2 separate regions of the Homo sapiens genome follow, and region 1 is linked to region 2. The links are contacts of gene promoters, found by promoter capture Hi-C in blood cells and fetal thymus (Javierre and others, 2016). All regions are on one chromosome and are shown on one strand. The core of a region is centred on a gene start or on the middle of the fragment in contact, and the rest is flanking DNA. Distances in the headings are between cores, read along the strand shown. Region 1 has its middle 51 kb from the start of ENPP4. Region 2 holds the start of TDRD6 (tudor domain containing 6).

Region 1 (4,415 bases), core at 213-2,712, 610 kb after region 2:
GCTTTTGTTGTGCTCAATTCAGCATTCTGTATATGATAGGATTTTAGTGAATGTTTGTTGATGGTGATGATCATGCAGATTTAAGGGGGAAAAATAAAAATTAAAGCCATAAGTCTTTGAGTCCCTAATTTGGGTGGTCTATACTGATGTGTCTATAGGCCAGAGCATTTATCTTCTTTTCCTTCTGCTGTTTAATCACCTAGTGGTGTTTCCAGATAAGAAATGTAAATGGAATTCATTACCTAACCAGGGCATGTAATTCATTTATCACAGGGTATCAATAGGCAAATAATTGTTCTATGTGATAAATTCAGCAGTAAATAGATGAGAGGCCATTGTGAAGAATTGTAGCTCTCCACTGAATTGCAGGGGTTCTTGAATGTTGTCAACATTTGGAGGCAGTTGGAGGAGGGAGCTCTATTGATGAAAAATGGCTACATATTCAAAATTTCAGTGTATACCAGGAAGATAATTCAATTCAATCTCTGGCTTACCCAAAGAATCTTGGAGTTACTGCCAATGAGGAAATCCCCAGGGTCTAATAAAAATATCTTTAGGAGTGAAGGAGTTAACTGAGTGTGTAAGCTTTATCTTCTGTCCAATGGACTTGTGGTTTGCTTATAAAACTCTCCAGTAAATAATTGTTAGAGACCTGTCATTGATAGCAGTTGCTAGTTGCTGCCTTTTAAGAGCTCGTTGATTCCTCTGCAAGGTGGTGCAGCATCCTCTGTCCCTTCATTCATTTCAGATCTACTCAGGTCTCCCTGTAAACAGATCTCTCGGATCAATAAGCATGAATGACGAAGACTACAGCACCATCTATGACACAATCCAAAATGAGAGGACGTATGAGGTTCCAGACCAGCCAGAAGAAAATGAAAGTCCCCATTATGATGATGTCCATGAGTACTTAAGGCCAGAAAATGATTTATATGCCACTCAGCTGAATACCCATGAGTATGATTTTGTGTCAGTCTATACCATTAAGGGTGAAGAGACCAGCTTGGCCTCTGTCCAGTCAGAAGACAGAGGCTACCTCCTGCCTGATGAGATATACTCTGAACTCCAGGAGGCTCATCCAGGTGAGCCCCAGGAGGACAGGGGCATCTCAATGGAAGGGTTATATTCATCAACCCAGGACCAGCAACTCTGCGCAGCAGAACTCCAGGAGAATGGGAGTGTGATGAAGGAAGATCTGCCTTCTCCTTCAAGCTTCACCATTCAGCACAGTAAGGCCTTCTCTACCACCAAGTATTCCTGCTATTCTGATGCTGAAGGTTTGGAAGAAAAGGAGGGAGCTCACATGAACCCTGAGATTTACCTCTTTGTGAAGGTAAGGTCTGCCTCTGACAGGCATACCCTGTTCATGCAGATATTATGGCTGGTGTTTTATTTTGCTCTGAATGACCAGGGAAAGATTCATAATGCCATGGTCCTTGGATCTCAATACATATTCAGGAGTCGGAGGGACTAAATCAGTCATTAGAGTGTACTCAGCTCTTCACAAAATTAGAGGAATTGGAAGGTGCATTTAAAGCACGTATTTAATCACTGACTTTTACATACCATGGGCAAAGTATTTTTCAAAACGGTTCACATAAGTGAGCCATAACTGCTGCCCAAATCCTTGCCATTGTGGCTGACATTAAGTACATTTTTCTGTCTGGTTAAATTTCCTTTGTCAACATGTTTAAAAGTGAAACCAAAGCTTGTGAAAGAAAGACCTTCTTGTGCTTCTAAGGTCACAGATTTGTCAGATAGGTGGTCAATAAAGGCTATCTCTGTCACTAGCTTGCCCCTTTGGCACCAATATAACTAAAAATTTGATGAAGTCAAATGATTTCAGTAGTAGTAAGACACTACCAGTGTTAATGTTTAATGCTTACGATATCTAAACAGAACCTTGGTGATCTTTGTATTAGATGATAAAGTAATAAAGTTATGGTTATAAATATTATCAAAATGTAAAGTGTTTCAGACCTAAACAAATCATCTTTATTAATCAAGATGGCAGGCCCTTTTTCCCCAACATCTCCCCCACAATATTCATATTTATGTGATTTTTAGAAATGTTTTCACATTTATTATATAAATATATTTGTAAATGCTGCTCTTTCCTGCCAATAAAAATGATTATAAACCTACAGAAACCATAGTTCATACTCATTTCTCTCTTCCCCAGTTCCCAGTAACATTTCTGATGAAACACACTTTACTAATTTTGCCCTTTGTTGTCTTGTAATTTGTTCTTTTCTCTAATTGTTTTGTGTGTAAATCATGGATCACTTATTCTACTACAAGGTCCTTTTAAAAATAATCTAGTATAGTGCTTGGTTCACACATACATACCAGACACACATTGCCTTGTACTCTGCTGAGCATTTGGGGGGAAAGGGCTGTGCAAGACAAGGCCCTTGCTCTTAAGTAATGAATAATATGGTGACAGAGACAGACTTGCACTCAATGTATTCTAATACAATATAGTAAGAGATGAAACAGAGGAGTGGGTGGAGTGTGTGGGTGTTCAGAGAAGGAGTGCTGAGATGTGTACTGAGTTTGGAGCAGCTCCACGGAGGAGGTGATGTTAGAACAGGTGCATTCACGCAGTTTTCTGACCTCCATATCCACATCATCACTGTCACACTGTGCAAACAAACTTTTTTTTTTTTCTTTTTTGAGACAGAGTCTCACTGTGTCACCCAGGCTGGAGTGCAATGGCATGATCTCAGCTCACTGCAACTTTCACCTCCCAGATTCAAATGATTCTCCTGCTTCAGCCTCCCGAGTAGCTGGGATTACAGGCATGTGCCACCTGGTCTGGCTAATTTTTGAATTTTTAGTAGAGATGGGGTTTTGCCATGTTGGCCAGGCTGGTCTCAAACTCCTAACCTCAAGTGATCCACCCGCCTCAACCTCCCAGAGTGCTGGGATTACAGACGTGAGCCACAGCTCCTGGCCACAGACTTTTTTAAAGTGAGGACTAGATGTATTTTTTTTTTCTCATGGCAGAAGCATCCATGCAACCTGTGACAGGCAAAGTGGGTCATCACCATGATCATCATCATGGACCCATCTGACATTATTTCTAAATTTGGCTAAGTGTTTATCTCACTAGAAATTAGCCTATGGCTGGTATTGAGCAAAAACAGAAGTAGTAGGAAAAAGAAGTGTTGGTACTTCCTGGCAGTACCAGCAACAGGGAAAATTGATTGACTATAACATGTAATTCCTAAATTACTTAAAATTTCCTAAAGCAAATATTAGATTTAACTCTTTAAGTTTACATTCTTTTTAGCATAATTGTGTGAACTGAAAGGCCATAGAGTGTCCCACTGACCTCAGCTTCTATGCATAAACTCCTTTTTAAGGATATTCAGTAATAAAAAGAGCGGCAGTTATAATCCCTGCTTCCTAGCTCCACACTCGGCCCTATCTTCACTGAAGTTCCTTACCCAATGTTGAATGGAAGTAGAATATATAAAATCGAGTAAAACAGGGCCTTCTCTGCTTGAGTGAAACTGTAGGGTGTGAGTGTGACCTCTCAGGCCTTTTCCTCTTCCCTGCTCTGTGGAAGGGATGTTGGTCCCCCACACTGGAGGGAGCTCTGTGGCTCACTGTCTTCCTAGTAGGGCTTACGGCTTTTCAGTTCTGGATGTTCTTCTCCTGGGCTGTTTTAGTGTGGACCACTGGGCTGCATTGATACTTGTATTCATTTGTGTATGTTTTCACCTGTTCTAGACATGTTGGTGAGAATGTCATGCAGGTTTGTAAGTATATGTTTAACCAACATTTTATTGAGGCTTAATCATTTCAGAGTGTTGACCAATTATTTAATTAAGTAACATATGTCATTCATTTATTCATTCAACAGATCTTATGTCAGGTGCTGGGTTTACACCAATGAAGAAAAAAAAAGTCTCGTCTCCCATGCACTTTTTTTTTTTTGGGACGGAGTTTCACTCTGCCACCCAGGCTGGAGGGCAGCTCACTGCAACCTCTGCCTCCCGAGTAGCTTAGATTACAGGCATGCGCCACCATGCCCAGGTAATTTTTGTATTTTTAGTAGAGACGGGTTTTCACTATGTTGTTCAGGATGGTCTCGATTTCTTGACTTCAGTGATCCACCCACCTCGGCCTCCCAAAGTTCTGGGATTACAGGCATGAGCCACCGCGCCCAGCCATGTCTCCCAGGCACTTTGCATTGTAGTGGGAGAGACAACTGATAAACAAATAAACAAATAAATATAAAATAGGGCTAATGGTGAAAATGCTATAAAACAGGATATGGGTGTATTAATTTCTTATTTCTGCTCTAACAAATTACCTAAAACTTAGTGGATTAAAAGAATACAAATATTCTCTTACAGTTCTGGGGGTCAGAAGTCTGAAATGAGTCTTATGGGGCTAAACTCAAG
Region 2 (4,568 bases), core at 133-2,632:
CATACAAAGCACAAGGGTAGGTCACCACCGGCATTCGAAAATATTCAGGCAGCAAGTACCGAAGGCTGCTGCAACTCACTAACTCCTTCCTTCCATAGTCCACATGAAGCACCTGGGCACAGCGCTGGGGCCGAAAAGTCTCAAGCAACAGTGCTCTGTACCAATGTCCATCCAGGCCACAGGATGCACACGGAGAGCCCGGCTTATCTGGGCTCTCCTCCCTCTCCTCCCAGGTGGCACTGGTAGAGTTCTCATCCCCTGTCCCCGTGGAACCCCGGTATACCTGGGCCATGCTCTCGGAGAGGCGGTGGATCTCCTGCGAGACGCTGCGGAGCTGGCAGTGAATGCGGTGGGGATGGCACACTTGGGTTATGACCACGGCCTCCGTCACGCCCAGCTGCAGCTGGGGATAGAAGTAATCCAGACCAGGCTGCTTTTGCTTGAGCGGGACTCGCGAGAGAACCGGGACCCCGGAGCCCACGCTAGCAGTGGCCGCTGTGAGATAGCGCTCCAGCAGCGAACGGAAGAGGCTGTCGGGCACCCGCCGAGCCAGGCCCAGCTCCCGCATCTGTTGGAACACATCAGGCACCTCCAGGAGGACCAGGCGATGGAGCAGCAGCACGTCCAGGACGCACCCGTGCACCTCCTTGCCCTGAAGGTTGCTAAGGAAGTCCACGGCGTCGGCGGGCCAGTGCTGCGGCGGCTCGCCTGAGCCCGCGCCGCAGCCTGCCGGCACCAGGCCCGCTAGCACGCAGCCCAGCACTTCCGAGGGCAAATTGAAGAACTCTCTGCGCCCAGGCGCCAGCGAGCCTGCTCCGGCCGTGATGGTGCGGCCCTCGTCCAGCAGGAAGACACGGCTCTCCTGTGCCTGCCGGCTGACCACGCGGCAGCGGTGCCACAAAAGCCCGACCTGCACCAGGCACAGCTCGCCGGGCGAGGCCGAGGCGCTGCCCAGCGCCCACTGGCCGCGCGTGGCCGCCGCTTCCTGGATTTCCCGGCTCAGCCGCAGGTACTCGCCCCGCCGCTCGCCCACCAGCCCCCACAGCTGCACCGGGATCACATCGGGATGCACGTCCACGAAGGACACCCGCAGGGCCAGCGAGGCCCCCGGCGCCGGCATTCCGGGCGTCGAGCACATCTTGACGGCGCGGCGCGGCCCCCACTTCCGGAAATTAAGGGCCGCGCCTCAGGGCCTCGAAATCCTCCGCGCCGCCTGAAGGCGAGTCCCAGCCAAACTAGGTTCAAAGGACCCAGTGGAGGGGAAGAATGCCGGCGAGGCCTTTTCTCGGCAACTCCCCCGTCGAGGGTCCTCCGGGACTCCCGCCACGGACTGGTAAGACCCGGTAGCCCCTCCAACCGCCCGAGGTCGCGCTTCCGGGCACGCATTTACCTCACTCGGCGCCGCCACTTCCGGCCGCGGAGAGTGGGCGGGGCCAGCCGAGGCCTGGGGTTGGCCTAACGCCTAAGGGCCCAAGGAGCTTGTTGGGACGTTCAGGAGACCCCGAGGTGGGAGGTTTTGGACACAACCTGCATCTCCTCAGAGCGCCTTCGACTCTGGAGGCCGCCGTGTGACGGCCTGACACAGGGCTGCGGTGAGGACCGACCAGAGAGGGATTTCCTTTTCGTCCTCCCAACTACCAGGGATTGAGCACTGGGGGCCAGGCAAGGTACTAGCCAGTGGCGTTCCCGACGGGAACGAGAAACGCAGGAGCCAATGGCACGTTCCTAGGCGTTAAGGCCGGAACTCTAGGAGGGCCCTGGGTGCTGCTGCGGGGCACGGGTGCTCCTGCTGGCTCAGTGTGTCCGTGGACAGCCAGGTGCTCAGCCTCTATTCTTTAACCCTGTTCCATCATCTGAATTGATAAGAGTTGTTATGAGGTTAAAATAACGTGTGAAAGTATATAGCAACTGGTACATATTTCCCTTCCCACACTTAGCTGATACGGGTTCCTTTGCTCCTTTGCTGTCTAACTCTGGCATCCCAATTTTGAAGGCATTTTCATTTACTCACAGAGCTAGCACAGAACTGGATTCATAAAAGGAGGCCAAGAGGAATGGAATCAACATTCCTTCAAGCCCCTGCTGTATATACTAAAATCTTAACAGGATAACCCTTTGAGGCCTCTGTTAAATGTCCAAACCTCCATTTGGAATGGAAAAGTGCAGGCAAACTAGAAGTTTCCAGGATATGTCTACATTAGATTTTTGTTCATTTGCAAAGTTAGACACATCCGTGGAAGCTTCTTATAGTCTGCCTGTACTTTTCCTTTCATTCCACGTTTCGAAATGTCATTACATACAAATACAACAAGGCAGTGCTTCAAATGACCCTGGCCTAACTGTAAATCTCAGTGTCTTCAGTCTGTCCAGATTAGAGGCAACCATGTGCTTCCACATCACCCTATGCTTACTTTTTCACGGCACTTTTCACATTGTGTGGCAACTGTCTGATCTCTATCATCCCACCAGCCGACAGGTTCCCTTTGGCAAGTACCGTTTGTTGGATTCTCGGAATCTAGCTTGGAGTGAAGGCAATGAATATTTGCTAAATGAATATGAATGAATGAATGAATGAATCCAATTTCTCTAAAAGCCAAAGCTTTTCTTTTCCTGAAGAACTCATCCTTGAAAACTCAATTTTCCCATTTTTTTTCTAATTGTTTCATATTCATTATGGAAGAAAAACATTTTATTTAAAAACATCTAGCAAGACCTAGCTCAAACGTCGTTTCCTCGTGACCCTACTATTCAACCTGGCAGAATTGGTTATTCCTTTTTTTTTTTTTTTTTACATACTTCTATATTATTATATTTTGTAGCTCTCTGTTTGCCACAGTAGGAACATCTTAAAAGCAGGAACACTTCTCATTTATTTTTATGTTCTCGATGCCTAGCCAGTGCTGGACTGTTAGCATCCAGTAAATCTTAACAAGAGTAAGCAATCTAACACTATGGCCTTTACAGTGGAAAGAAGGAATTCATTATAAAATGGTCTTATGATCACTTGAAATTGTTTTATCATTACATGGAATAATGGAGACTTTAATCCATCATCTATTTCAGGTTCATGTAGTATAACCAAACTCCTTTGTAGACCACAGGGTTGTAGATATTATGACTTTCTGTATTTCATTTGTCCTCCAACCTCCTTCCATGGCTCATGGCCTTAATCCTAGGACGTCAGGGTATATCACGTGGCCGTTATGGGCTGATCTGAATCCTTTACCCCCATCCACCCAGATTTTCCAATGTCCTACCTTTTCTGTATCTGGAGCAGGTAGCATTAGTTTGTTCTGTCATGCTCTGCTGTTGGACAGGGACTCGGGTTAATTTTAAAAATCAGGTCATTGCACTGTTAAGATTAAGCTCCCCTCATATATCTCCCATACTATATTAAACAAAATATCTTGAGTTTTATAATAAATAAACTTTCCTCCCATTAGTCTTGAGAGGCCCTTGGTTTCGGAAAAGAAGGGAGAGGGGATTTTTTTTTTATTATTATTGTACTTTAAGTTCTGGGACATTATGTACAGAACGTGCAGATTTGTTACATAGGTATACACATGCCATGGTGGTTTGCTGCACCCATCAACCCATCATCTACATTAGGTATTTCTCCTAATGCTATCCCTCCCCTATCCTTCCACCCCTTGACAGGCCCCGGTATGTGAAGTTTGGGAGAGAGGATATTCTTATCCTAATACAAATACGTAAGGGATAAAGGGGGAAAGGTTAAGGCCAGGGATGGAATGTGTATGACAGGTGTTTGAATACTAATATTATGAGCCACTTCAATATTTTTTATGGAAACGATGCAGGAAAATTGGGCTAAATAAATCATACTTATTTTGTGCTGTCTTAGGCCTCTGTGTATAGAGAACTCTAAGCAGAAATGCAGTATACTTTACAGTCTATAGTTTCTATACTACTAATTGACTTTGTTTAAAGTTGCTTAGAAAAATTAACATTTACTGGATATTTTTAGAAAACAGTTCAAGTAAGAAATACCCTGTTAGGAGAATGAAAAAGACAAGCTACAGACAGGGAGAAAATATTTGCAAACCACACGTCTGACATAGGACTTGTATCTATAATAGATAAACGACTCTCGAAACTCAATAGTAAAAAAAATAAATTTGAAAATAGGCAAAAGATATGAAGTGGCATTTCACGGAGGAGGATGTACAGATGACAAAGAAGAATATGAAAAGATTTTCAACATCATTAGCTATTAGACAAAAAAAAAAAAAAACCCACAATGTTATATCACCACATGCCATGGTAATGACTAAGCTAAAAAATCGTGATAACACCAGTACTGGCAAGAATGTGAATAAACTGCATCACTTATGTTGCTGGTAAGAATGTAAAATGGTACAGCCACATTTTAAAAACTATGTACTTGCCATATGACTGAAAAATTGCATTTAGGCATTTATCCCAAAGAAAGGAAACATGCTCATGCAAAAACCTGGAACCCAAAACTGGAAACAACCTAAATGCCCTTCGATGGGTAAATGGTTAAACAAACTGTGGTACATCAATACCAAAGGGTCCTACACAGCAAT

The links. Contacts are between HindIII fragments. The CHiCAGO score rates a contact against its expected background, and 5 or more counts as called.
Region 1: a fragment that was not itself captured here is called in contact with the fragment with the promoter of TDRD6 in region 2 in 1 of 17 cell types (M0 macrophages); the score reaches 5.4 in M0 macrophages.

The regions. Positions count from the first base shown.
Region 1 is chr6:46,076,621-46,081,035 of GRCh38, reverse strand. It overlaps a transcript of CLIC5 not described here. Among named protein-coding and RNA genes, the nearest start is that of ENPP4, 51 kb to the left of the region's middle. The HindIII fragment of the contact is 496 bases long and covers 1,215-1,710 here.
Region 2 is chr6:46,684,699-46,689,266 of GRCh38, reverse strand. TDRD6 (tudor domain containing 6) reads right to left here and starts at 1,382. Exons shown (of 4, transcript NM_001010870.3): 1 at 1-1,382. The coding sequence starts at 1,138. It overlaps TDRD6-AS1 (TDRD6 and SLC25A27 antisense RNA 1), which reads left to right and starts at 1,102. Exons shown (of 2, transcript NR_134643.1): 1 at 1,102-1,333. The HindIII fragment of the contact is 3,266 bases long and covers 1-2,242 here.